Linked DNA regions of Homo sapiens: regions 1 and 3 are each linked to region 2. The links are contacts of gene promoters, found by promoter capture Hi-C in blood cells and fetal thymus (Javierre and others, 2016). All regions are on one chromosome and are shown on one strand. Each heading gives the region's core, a stretch centred on a gene start or on the middle of the fragment in contact. The rest is flanking DNA. Distances are from core to core; before and after follow the strand shown.

Evidence for each region. Contacts are between HindIII fragments. The CHiCAGO score rates a contact against its expected background, and 5 or more counts as called.
Region 1: the fragment with the promoter of RBM11 here is called in contact with the fragment with the promoter of BTG3 in region 2 in 1 of 17 cell types (non-activated CD4 T cells); the score reaches 5.3 in non-activated CD4 T cells.
Region 3: a contact is called between a fragment that was not itself captured here and the fragment with the promoter of BTG3 in region 2, in 1 of 17 cell types (non-activated CD4 T cells). The highest score is 5.9, in non-activated CD4 T cells.

What each region holds. Positions count from the first base shown.
Region 1 is chr21:14,214,095-14,217,568 of GRCh38, reverse strand. It overlaps RBM11 (RNA binding motif protein 11), which reads right to left and starts at 1,412. Exons shown (of 5, transcript NM_144770.5): 1 at 1,287-1,412. The coding sequence starts at 1,382. RefSeq lists a silencer at 1,366-1,595. The HindIII fragment of the contact is 12,542 bases long and covers 1-2,651 here.
Region 2 is chr21:17,611,281-17,614,312 of GRCh38, reverse strand. BTG3 (BTG anti-proliferation factor 3) reads left to right here and starts at 1,412. Exons shown (of 5, transcript NM_006806.5): 1 at 1,412-1,614. It overlaps BTG3-AS1 (BTG3 antisense RNA 1), which reads right to left and starts at 2,627. Exons shown (of 1, transcript NR_149073.1): 1 at 199-2,627. It also overlaps a transcript of CXADR not described here. The HindIII fragment of the contact is 7,083 bases long and covers 632-3,032 here.
Region 3 is chr21:14,380,149-14,383,340 of GRCh38, reverse strand. It overlaps HSPA13 (heat shock protein family A (Hsp70) member 13), which reads left to right and starts at 195. Exons shown (of 5, transcript NM_006948.5): 1 at 195-246; 2 at 1,798-2,138. The coding sequence starts at 222. It overlaps LOC105369304 (a long non-coding RNA gene), which reads right to left and starts at 575. Exons shown (of 2, transcript XR_007067924.1): 1 at 1-575. RefSeq lists an enhancer at 179-488. The HindIII fragment of the contact is 303 bases long and covers 1,099-1,401 here.

The DNA of each region.
Region 1 (3,474 bases), core at 163-2,662, 3.4 Mb after region 2:
CAGGAAAGGAAACTGTATTCCTGGAAAGAACCCTCTCTACCAAATTGTATCTACAATTAAAAGAGGGTTGCTTTAGTTAAGTTTCGAGACAAAAGTAAGTCCTTTCACAACCAAATAAAGGACCCCTTTGACCCATTCAATCCTGAAAATTTAGTTCTGTAATTGCCTCCCTCGGAACTTTCCCTTATTCTGATAGGAGAAAGTAACTATTGATTTCTCTTGATGTTAGTATTATTACTAATAATAACAGCAGTACCATTAGCAGTAGTAGCGGTAGCAAACAGCGAGTGCTAGACTCAGCTGTAGCCATTTTACCATTAGGCCACATATTCCGATAGCCACATTATACTGCAGATACTACTACTCTCTTTTGACATATAAGGAAACTGAAGCACTGAGGAATTCATTGACAGGCTCAGAGTCACACTGCTGACCTCAGAGTTCGCACGCGGAACCACTTTTCTATCTATGTCCCTTCTCTTTTTATAGATTATCGTAAACATTGTAATTTTAAGTTCTCCCTGTTAGGAAGATAAAAGGATGTCTCGTCAATTTGTTTTCCCAGCACCCTCAGTATTTGCCCCGTAATTCCGGATCATTACACGGTTAGGGGAATGGCTGAATGAGTGTATCTTTTTGGCAAGTGATACCTAGCTGTATAGGACAATACGATAAGTGAGCGTGTATACAGGACACAGCAGGCTTAATCCTAGAGGTACCAGATCTCAAAGTTTCCGAAGGTCCTCTTGGTATGAATTAAAGGGCCTTGTCCAGGGAATCACCTGGTCACAGTCACGGTAAGTTGGCTGCCAAATCATCTCAAATCTCACTTTTCATGCTGGAATAAAAATACTGTCCGCATAAAAGGGCTTGAAGGAAGGAGCAAGGTGTAAAAGGAAACATTATAAAAGCGACCCCTCTCCTTTTGGGGGATGTCAGGCGTGCTTACTACTTGACGGAGAACAGTGACCAGGCTGTTTTCGGTTCTGCCCGCGCACACCCGAGGCCCAGGCAGCCTCTGGGAAGCCCTTAATCAGAAACGGGGGTTGAAGGAACCACGTCCCTGCCCAACCCCAGGACTCTGCAGCGCGGATGGGGATGGGGAACGCGCCCTCATTTCACTCCCCAGCCGCTCACCTGGAGACAGGTGCGCCAAGAGGAAACGAAATTAAAACCCCTGCTCAGGATGGGACGGAAGGGGGCCGGGCTCCGGGTGGTCCAGGTGCGCGCTATGTTTCCGGCCCGACGTGCTCCGCCCCTCCGCCGCCCCTTCCCAGAGACGGTACCTGAAGGAACAGCTCGTACAGAATCTCTTCCCGAACTCGGGCCTCTAAATTCCCAACAAACACGGTCCTGTCGGCCTCCTCCTGAGCAGGGAACATCCTCCGGTCTCGGCCGTAGAATGAAGTAGGAGCTGAGACCCCGCCCCTTCTCCGGCTTTACGGCGCCGCCTGGGTGAGGGGGCGGGGCCGGCGCCGGGAGCGCGCGCTGGGGGCGAGGCATGGCTCCAGGGCCACGCCCCCAGCGGACTTGGGGTACCGCCCACCGCACTGCTCCCTCGCCTGGCGTAGGGCTGGGCGGTGGGAGAGTGGGTGAGAGTAAGAAAGATGAATGCAGAAAGGGCTTTACTCTTTAGCTAGTGGGGTGGCTTCCTTTTTTTCTGGCACATTAATTGATTTTGGATTTATTCAATCAACATTTTAAATAAAGTCACTGTAGAGATGATTTAAATTGTGGTAACTTCATTGCAGAAGCTCCCAGGCAAATGCGGGGAGATACATTTCTTTGGGTCCAAAGAATAAATGAACAAATCATGAAGATATTAAACTATAAATAATTTTTGAAAGAATCGATGTTTGCATGGATGTGGATACAACAGAAAACTAGAATTAAAGTTTATTTTCCTAGAAAGTGCTCCCTAGATGAGTTTTTGAAACTGGTCGCAGAGGTTTTAAGTGGACTCCAAAAGGAACTTGAGAAAGCAAATACCAAGGGATATACTGGTGAGAGTGAGCCAGTTTTGTGTCTAAGCCAGAATTTTTGAGGATGGCAGCTAGGGTTTGTGTCAGGATCCAACGGCTGTACTTTGTTTCAGGGCTATACTTTGTATATGGTGTACCAGGCTAAAGGCTTAGTTCTTTCTTGGGGATAATTTTTGTTTTTAATAAAAGTCTTATGAACAATAAAATTACAAGAAAGGAGAAAGAAAACTTAGAATCTCAATACTTTGATAAATCAGCTGTCAACTGTTAACTTGGCTTCCTTTCTGAAGCTACCATACGTCTACATAGGACCTTGAGATCATCTCATGAATATCATATAGGTGATCAGAACATTATTTGACCTTTAGTTTGGCATCGTGATAAAATTTCATTTTGAATTGAGGAAGCATGCTTTTATCTGGTTGATGGACCAAAAAAAGTCATCTTTTCTAATGAAAAGGTACACATTTTAGGAAATCCTAATTTCTAATTGATCTCTGACATTACATAGTTTTATTACTTTGAACAAGTAATTTCTCTTTGGAATTCGGATTCTGTTTCTTAAGGAATGGATTGGACTAAATATAGTTACTTCATTTAATAGGTATTTTCTGAATGCTTAATTCTTGGAAAACAAAGGGAAATATAAAAGTCTGACCTCCTAAAGCTTATACTTTGGGAGAGACAGCCTTTCTACCCTCACAAATATAATATAAATGCTAGTAACTTCAGTAGTTACCTTCAACTGATATAAGTCCTGTCTCCATTTTTTTTTTTCCTTTTTCTTTCCTCTATCATCAGTAGAGTTGCGGTACAGTAAGAAGGAGTTAAGGAAACACTCATATTGTAGGCAAATAAATATATGTTGATCAAATGAATGGATACTTGCAAGTCTCTGTTATGTGTAGACCTCTTGATTTATTTGTATTCATTTACTTCATAAATCTCATCAAAGCAACATATTTCCTCCTTGAATTCCCCTCAGACACTTCTTATATGCAAGCTGTATCTTCAGGTTTCAGTTTAAACCATTGCATGTATATGAGTGCGTATGCTACAAACCTTTAACTACACTTGTAATTAATGTTCATATTATATTGTTCTATTGAAATTTGCATCCTTCTTTGTCTACAAATGTGCATAATTTTGGTGTTATAATATCCTCTTCTGGCCGTACATAAGTTTATAGTGCTTATAATTCTAGAATACTTAGTTAATATTATAAACTCTGAAAGTCAGCTTCTGTAGTTAGCAATTTTTTCAGAATATGATCTCAATATATCATTTTTCTAATGTAAGCATGTTCTGTTTCTTAACTCATATTGAATGCATGCATGGTAATAAATCTAGTAGTAGGTTAAAAATAATTCACTTCACTTTCAGTATTTACTGTACCATTAGTCATATATCAGGTTTTAATGGGTTAAATACATGTAACACTCTATAAAGAGCTAGCCTTTCTTCATTTATATCAGGATGTCTGATGTCCCTA
Region 2 (3,032 bases), core at 163-2,662:
ACAAATTTTGAGTAATGTGGGTGGTTACCTAGCTATTTTATGAAACTGCAGAATTAAAGGCCTTTATCTGTAAAAATAACCTCATCAGATTGTTATGATTTTAAAATAAAAACACCTTCACACCTCCTAGAAGACTCCAAGGTGTAAATATCCTCTTTAAATGTACCAGTAAGTAGACTAAGTCCTAGAAGAGTATAATTTTTTTTTTTTACAAATAAAGTTTATTGTACTGTTTGGGGGATGGTATATTTATTACTGCTAAAAAAATTACCATTTTGAATTGCTAATTGGCTATAACAAAGATCAGTAATACAAATTTAAAACATTCATAAAACTGAGCTGAAAACATGCTCCCAAGCCTAGTGGGCAGTAAGGAATCTGGCCAATATACTGTACAACTTGAACATTCAGTTCTTAAGTAGTTTACAACATGGTTTAGCCCTCTTTTAATAATAATAATAAAAAGGTAGGAATATCTTGTATTCCTCCCGCTAGTTGGATGTATTAAAGTGCTTTCACAAAACTAAGACCATGGTGTTAACTCAATATAAAAGGTTGAAAAGATGTTCCTTCTTTTCTTCAGAAAGTTAATGTTCCCTCTCCATATTTGTATTTGCTCAAAGATGAAGCTTTGCATCTGGGAAGTCCTTGAGTAGAGTGTCTCAGAAATAGAAAGCCTGGACTCTCAAGGCTTCATTCCTTTGGCCAACATCTTTGGAGCCTCTCCTTTATGCAAAACACAGTGGCCGGTGCCAGGGCAGCACACAAGCGTCCACAGGAGGCAGGCCCTGCTGTGAGGGGCCAGGGAAGGGCCCAACTAGGAGTGCCAACAACCGCCTAAAATACAGCAGGGCGGCTGCACGGTTAACGTGCGTGTAATTGACTACAGCAAGAAGGATGAGGATCTGTCCATAAATGCCAAGTTCCCCTTCCCGTCGAGTCCGTGTCCCCCATGAAGCCCCGGGTCTAGAGAGCTGGGTCTAGAACTCGCCATTCCGCCCTGAGGGTGTCAAGTGCAGCGTGGAGAGACCTGAGGGGGAAACAAAAAGGCCGAGACAGCCGAAAGGACCAAGCCCGCGCGACCCCCGAAGGCGCTGACGCACGTAGGGCGGCCGGGCGGGGGTCCCACAGGCCTTCAGCGCCGCTTTTTGCCGGGGAGGGAAGCCCGCGGTTCTGCGGACCGCGCCGTCGCGGTCGAGGGTCTGCGCCAGGCTCAGGGTAGGGCGAGGGTGTGTCGCCTCCCGTGCGGCTAGGCCCGGGGCTCGGGGGTGGCCTCGCGGCGAAGCCCCGCCCCCGGCACCGCCCCTCAGGCGCGCGAGCCGATCCCGCGCGCGCCAACCCTTTCCCGGGTCATCGCCCCTCCCCTCTTCCGGGCCGCGAGCCCCCTGCGCGCCGCTTTGGGGCTGCGCTCACTCGTGTGCGCGCTCGTCCGCCCGCCAGTCCTCTCAACGCGCGCTTGGCCGCCCGACGACGCGGGAGCCGCACGCGCCGGACGAGGCTCGCTGCGCTCCCTGTTGCCCAGCGCGGGCCCGTTGAGGCGGAGCCCTCAGTTCCCGGCCAGGACACGGTCTGGGCCGCCGAATCTCCGGCCGAAGAGCGGCGGCGGCAGCGGCGGTGAGGAGACCGGGCCGGGGAAAGGCAGACATGGCGGGGCTGTGGGTATCGGGGGAGGGTGGTCCCGTCGCCCCTGCGGCCACGTCGAAGGCTCGCTGGCGGGCGGCGCACCGGGGACAGGGGAGGGGCAGGGGATGGAACCAGGTTGCATGGGCTCCGGCTCGGCGCCAGAGCGGGGCTGCGGGCCGCGAGGGCGGCCCGCGAGGCTTTCCGCGGGACCCTCGGCGGGCGCCTGAGGAAAAAGACGCCGCCTCAGGGCTCCTGCCACGTTTCCCACAGCGCGTTACATTCCGCCTCCGGGTGGGCGACAACCCCGCGGCTTCCCACCCTCTGTCCACCCCCTTCGCGTCGGTGTTTTTTCTGGAGCTCCGCTTGTTTGCTGGAGAGTCGCGCCTCCGGGAAGCCGGGTCCTCGAACCCAGGGCCGCCCGCCGGGGACAGCGGACCCGCGGGGCAGGCGCACCCTGGCGAGGATGTTGTCGGGGAGGCTGGGCATTGGGCGCCAGGGCCCTTCCCCTTGAACTTGGGGAAAACCGGGATTGCAGAAGTTGGGCGCAGCTCAAGGCGGTTCTTTCAAGAGCGGGTGGAGATGTTTGATCCCTCCTCACCTACCTCTCTCAAAACCCCAGCGGGAGAGCCTAGCAGCAGGTTTCGATGGCTTCAGAAAGTCCAACTCTTAGCCCCTTGGAAAATTATTTCCCCTCTTCATGGCTTTGTGGCGCCGCTGAGGTCGGGCCGGGGCTCCTCACCCCACGGGCCAGTCTTCTCGCGCCCTCCACCTTGGGAACGTCTATCAGGAGAAAAATGTGTTCCTAGAAACGTTTGCGATTAGCTTTTCGTTACAAGGGAGGGAAAAGTACAAAAGTTATAAACTCCTGCGAGGCCGAGCTTGATTCTGGATTCCCTTTGGGTTTTATCCACGCAGCCGTGAGCAGAGGAGCCTTGTGGAACAAAGTAGAACTTGAGGAGCAGCCGCCGCGGTGACGAGGTCCCAGGATGACGTCACCGTGCGATATTTAAAATGGGAGCCTTTTGCTCTGAGTGTGGGTGGAGGACGCCTACTTACTCAAGACGCCTGAGGTCTTCTTGGCCCTGCTTGCCTCTGGTGGTTCTTGCCCTGACTGTAACTCTCCCTCTTTCACCTTTTGGTACTCCTAGAATACTGGTGGGAGTGGGCTTATTTTTCAGCTGTTCGAGCTATCATTTCTTCAAACGGGGAAAACAAAAGTCCAAATGAGTCATCTTGTGTTACAACCAAAAGCAACCACTAAGTGGTTCTTTCCTTCTTTTCTATTTTTTTATATGAAGCAGAGCAAACAGAAACAAATCCAGAACTCAGATATGTGGCACATAGTTGGCAAATGTAATGAATGAGGAGAAAGATCTAGTTAAAAGATTCAGTACATTTCTTTAGTGTGG
Region 3 (3,192 bases), core at 1-2,500, 3.2 Mb after region 2:
GGAAGGGGGACTCAGTCGTCACTGGCAGCGGTTGAATGGAGGCTCTTTGCCCCGCGCCCTCACGGTAGATGAAGTCCTTGCTTTGGTCAGAGCGATAGCTTCTCCGATTGCCTCAGAGCAAGCGGACTACATTTCCCAGGGGGCTGCGGGACTGCCGGGAGGAGTGGGGGCGGTGCCTCACGTCTGGTACAGTCATCACAAGCCTGTTCGGCGGGACTGTGATGGCCAGAGAGATGACGATCTTAGGTGGGTTCCCGGGGGTCCTTGTTGCTCTTGCGGGCGTAGAGGCGATCTGAGGATGCCAGAGTGGGCAGGGGTGGTTGACTCACCTCCTGGATCTAGCTGGAGCAGCGGAAGGGGAGTCAGAAAGGTGACTTAGAGACGGTTTTCGGCTGTTCGGAGTGGATGGGGGCGGGGACGCCTCTAGGAGGGCCCCGGCCCCTGCAGGCCAAGGTAGGATAGACGGCGACCAGCTGTGTCCATCCCAGGGACATCAGGCTTAGGGAGGCGTTCCTTTCAACAGCACCTAGGTTTTTGAATTGCCTGTTGAATTGGGGCAAGCTATGGAAGGCTGCGAGAACGTGCACCTCCAGGACCCCTTTGTGGAGGAAGGGGGAGGAGCTACATCCGGATCTGTCGGCTCAGGGATGCTGAATTTGGAGGCTTTTTCCATCACATCGGGTTTGGAATTACCTATCCCCCACCCACACACACACCCACCCCGCGTCTCCAAGGTGATGAAATGCTTCTGAAATGTTGCCTGTAGCTGGAAGTGGAAAGTGGGATTCGCACTTGGTTTTATTTCTTTGAGTTATGTGTTGATGAGGATGAGCTAACAATTAGTAACACAGAGCCCTGAAAATTCATGTTTTGGGTCATATGTAATATGAGCGGACACAGGTGTATAACACAGCCTCCTGATACCAAATACGAGATTCATTAAAAACTAAAGGGGCATCTTTCTTCGCTTATGTTTACAATCTGCGTGGCATTTGTTCCTACTCTTTTTTCTTTTTTTTTTAAATTAGTATTTGTTGGGCATCTGCTATTCCTGGTCTGGGGGATACAACAGTGAACGAAACTTGTCTTCAAGAAGCTTTCATAGATGTTGCCGTCAGGGTTGCCCACCTTTATGCTTCTTCTCCCCTAAATATTACCACTGCAAGAAGGAAGTCCCTAGTTCATACTTAAATACATAAAAAGTTAACTGTGTTCTGTTTTGAAGTGACAGTTTCATATCTAAGGAACTTTCAAAATCATTTTATCCCATTTATTCATTTCATCCTTTTGAAAGGGAAAAGGAGGTGAGATACGAGGAGAGAATTTTAGACTTATAAAATAATAAAGTTTTTCTTGTGAGAATTTTAATAATGGAGCTTTTAAAAAAAGATAATCGAAGCTTTTTATAAAGCTGTAAAATCTAAATATCAATTGATCAAGAATATTAGATTATATCTGGCTTTTGCTCCAGATAAATGTTGTTTCTTGTCAGCATCTGCACAAATATTATTGAAATATTTTTACATTTTATTACATTTATTAGAGAATGACACAAACATACAGTTATAGGGTTTTTTGTTGTTTGTGTTTACTTCATTTTAAATTTTATTATAACCAGTTTACATTTTGAAAAACTTGCTGTCTGAGAGGAGTGCTATCAGCAGTCCTATAAAAAATTTTGAAATTTGTCTTTTTTAGCCTTGTTTCAACGAGTGATATTAAAGGGACTTTGCTACAGTAATTTAGTACATTGTACTAGTTTGATAAAATACATCTTTTAATTTTCCTTTATTTCAGGATCGGCTGTTTTGACTCTCCTGTTGGCCGGCTATTTGGCACAACAGTATTTACCATTGCCTACTCCTAAAGTGATTGGTATTGATCTTGGCACCACCTATTGTTCTGTTGGGGTGTTTTTTCCTGGCACAGGAAAAGTAAAGGTGATTCCAGATGAAAATGGGCATATCAGCATACCCAGCATGGTGTCTTTTACTGACAATGATGTATATGTGGGATATGAAAGCGTAGAGCTGGCAGATTCAAATCCTCAAAACACAATATATGATGCCAAAAGATTCATAGGCAAGATTTTTACCGCAGAAGAGTTGGAGGCTGAAATTGGCAGATACCCATTTAAGGTAAGTGATTAATCTAAAATCTATATTAATTTTAGTGTACTCTTTTAGTTAATGCTTTGGCTTCATGTCACAAAACATTCTATCTCGTCTAGTTTTATCTATTAATACATGAAAGTTCTGTTATCTCACATAACCAGAAATTCCACAGCAGCTATAGGATCAGTTAATCACTGACTCCATAATGCTAACAGGTACTTAAGGCCTTGCCATTTTCTTGCTGTCCCATCCTCAGCATGTCTTGCTTAGCTCTTTCAAGGTAGCAGGAAGGTTGATGAAGCCCTGTGTACCATAGATAGATATTCTGTGTGTGTATGTGTACATATTTATATACATATAAAGAGAACATACCAGGTGTGCTATTTTTTGCTATTTAATATGTCATGGATAATTAATAGGATCATGTCATTATCTTTAATGATTTTGTGGAATGACTATTCCATTATTAATTAGACTAGTCTCTATCAGTGTACTTTTTTGTGGTTTTTCACTAATGTTGGAGATTCCGGTAATATCCTTACTTATCTTTGTACACTTCTCTGAAAGTTTCCTAACTTGAATGCTAGAAGTCTAATTGATAGGTCAAATGTGTACGTTTTTAAGGCTTTTGATTTATTTTTCTGGTTTGCTCACCAGAAAGGTTATATGCTCTTAACCATAATTTTTTAGAGTGGCTGTATCTTCGCTAGTTATTTTTTTTAATCTTTAACAGTCAGATAAGTGAAAAATAGTATCCTGTATTAATTTTTATTTATTTTGATTTTTTTTAGTGAGATCAGAATTTTTAGAATTTTATTGATATTTTAATTTTCTTTTATGGTCCATTTTTCTTTGTCCTTTTTTGTTTTGGTGTGTTTTTCTTTTCCTTAGTGAGCTATAAAAGACCTTCATTATATGTTTTTGTTATCTTTTCCTTACCTTTTTTTTTTCACTGATGTTTTTGAGCTGGATGTCAAAGTTTTAAATTTTTGATTTTAGACTCTTATCATGTTTACTGTAGCCTATCCCATCCTATCCACTGCTACTTTTTTTTCCCTCTTAATACGTTTATGTATTT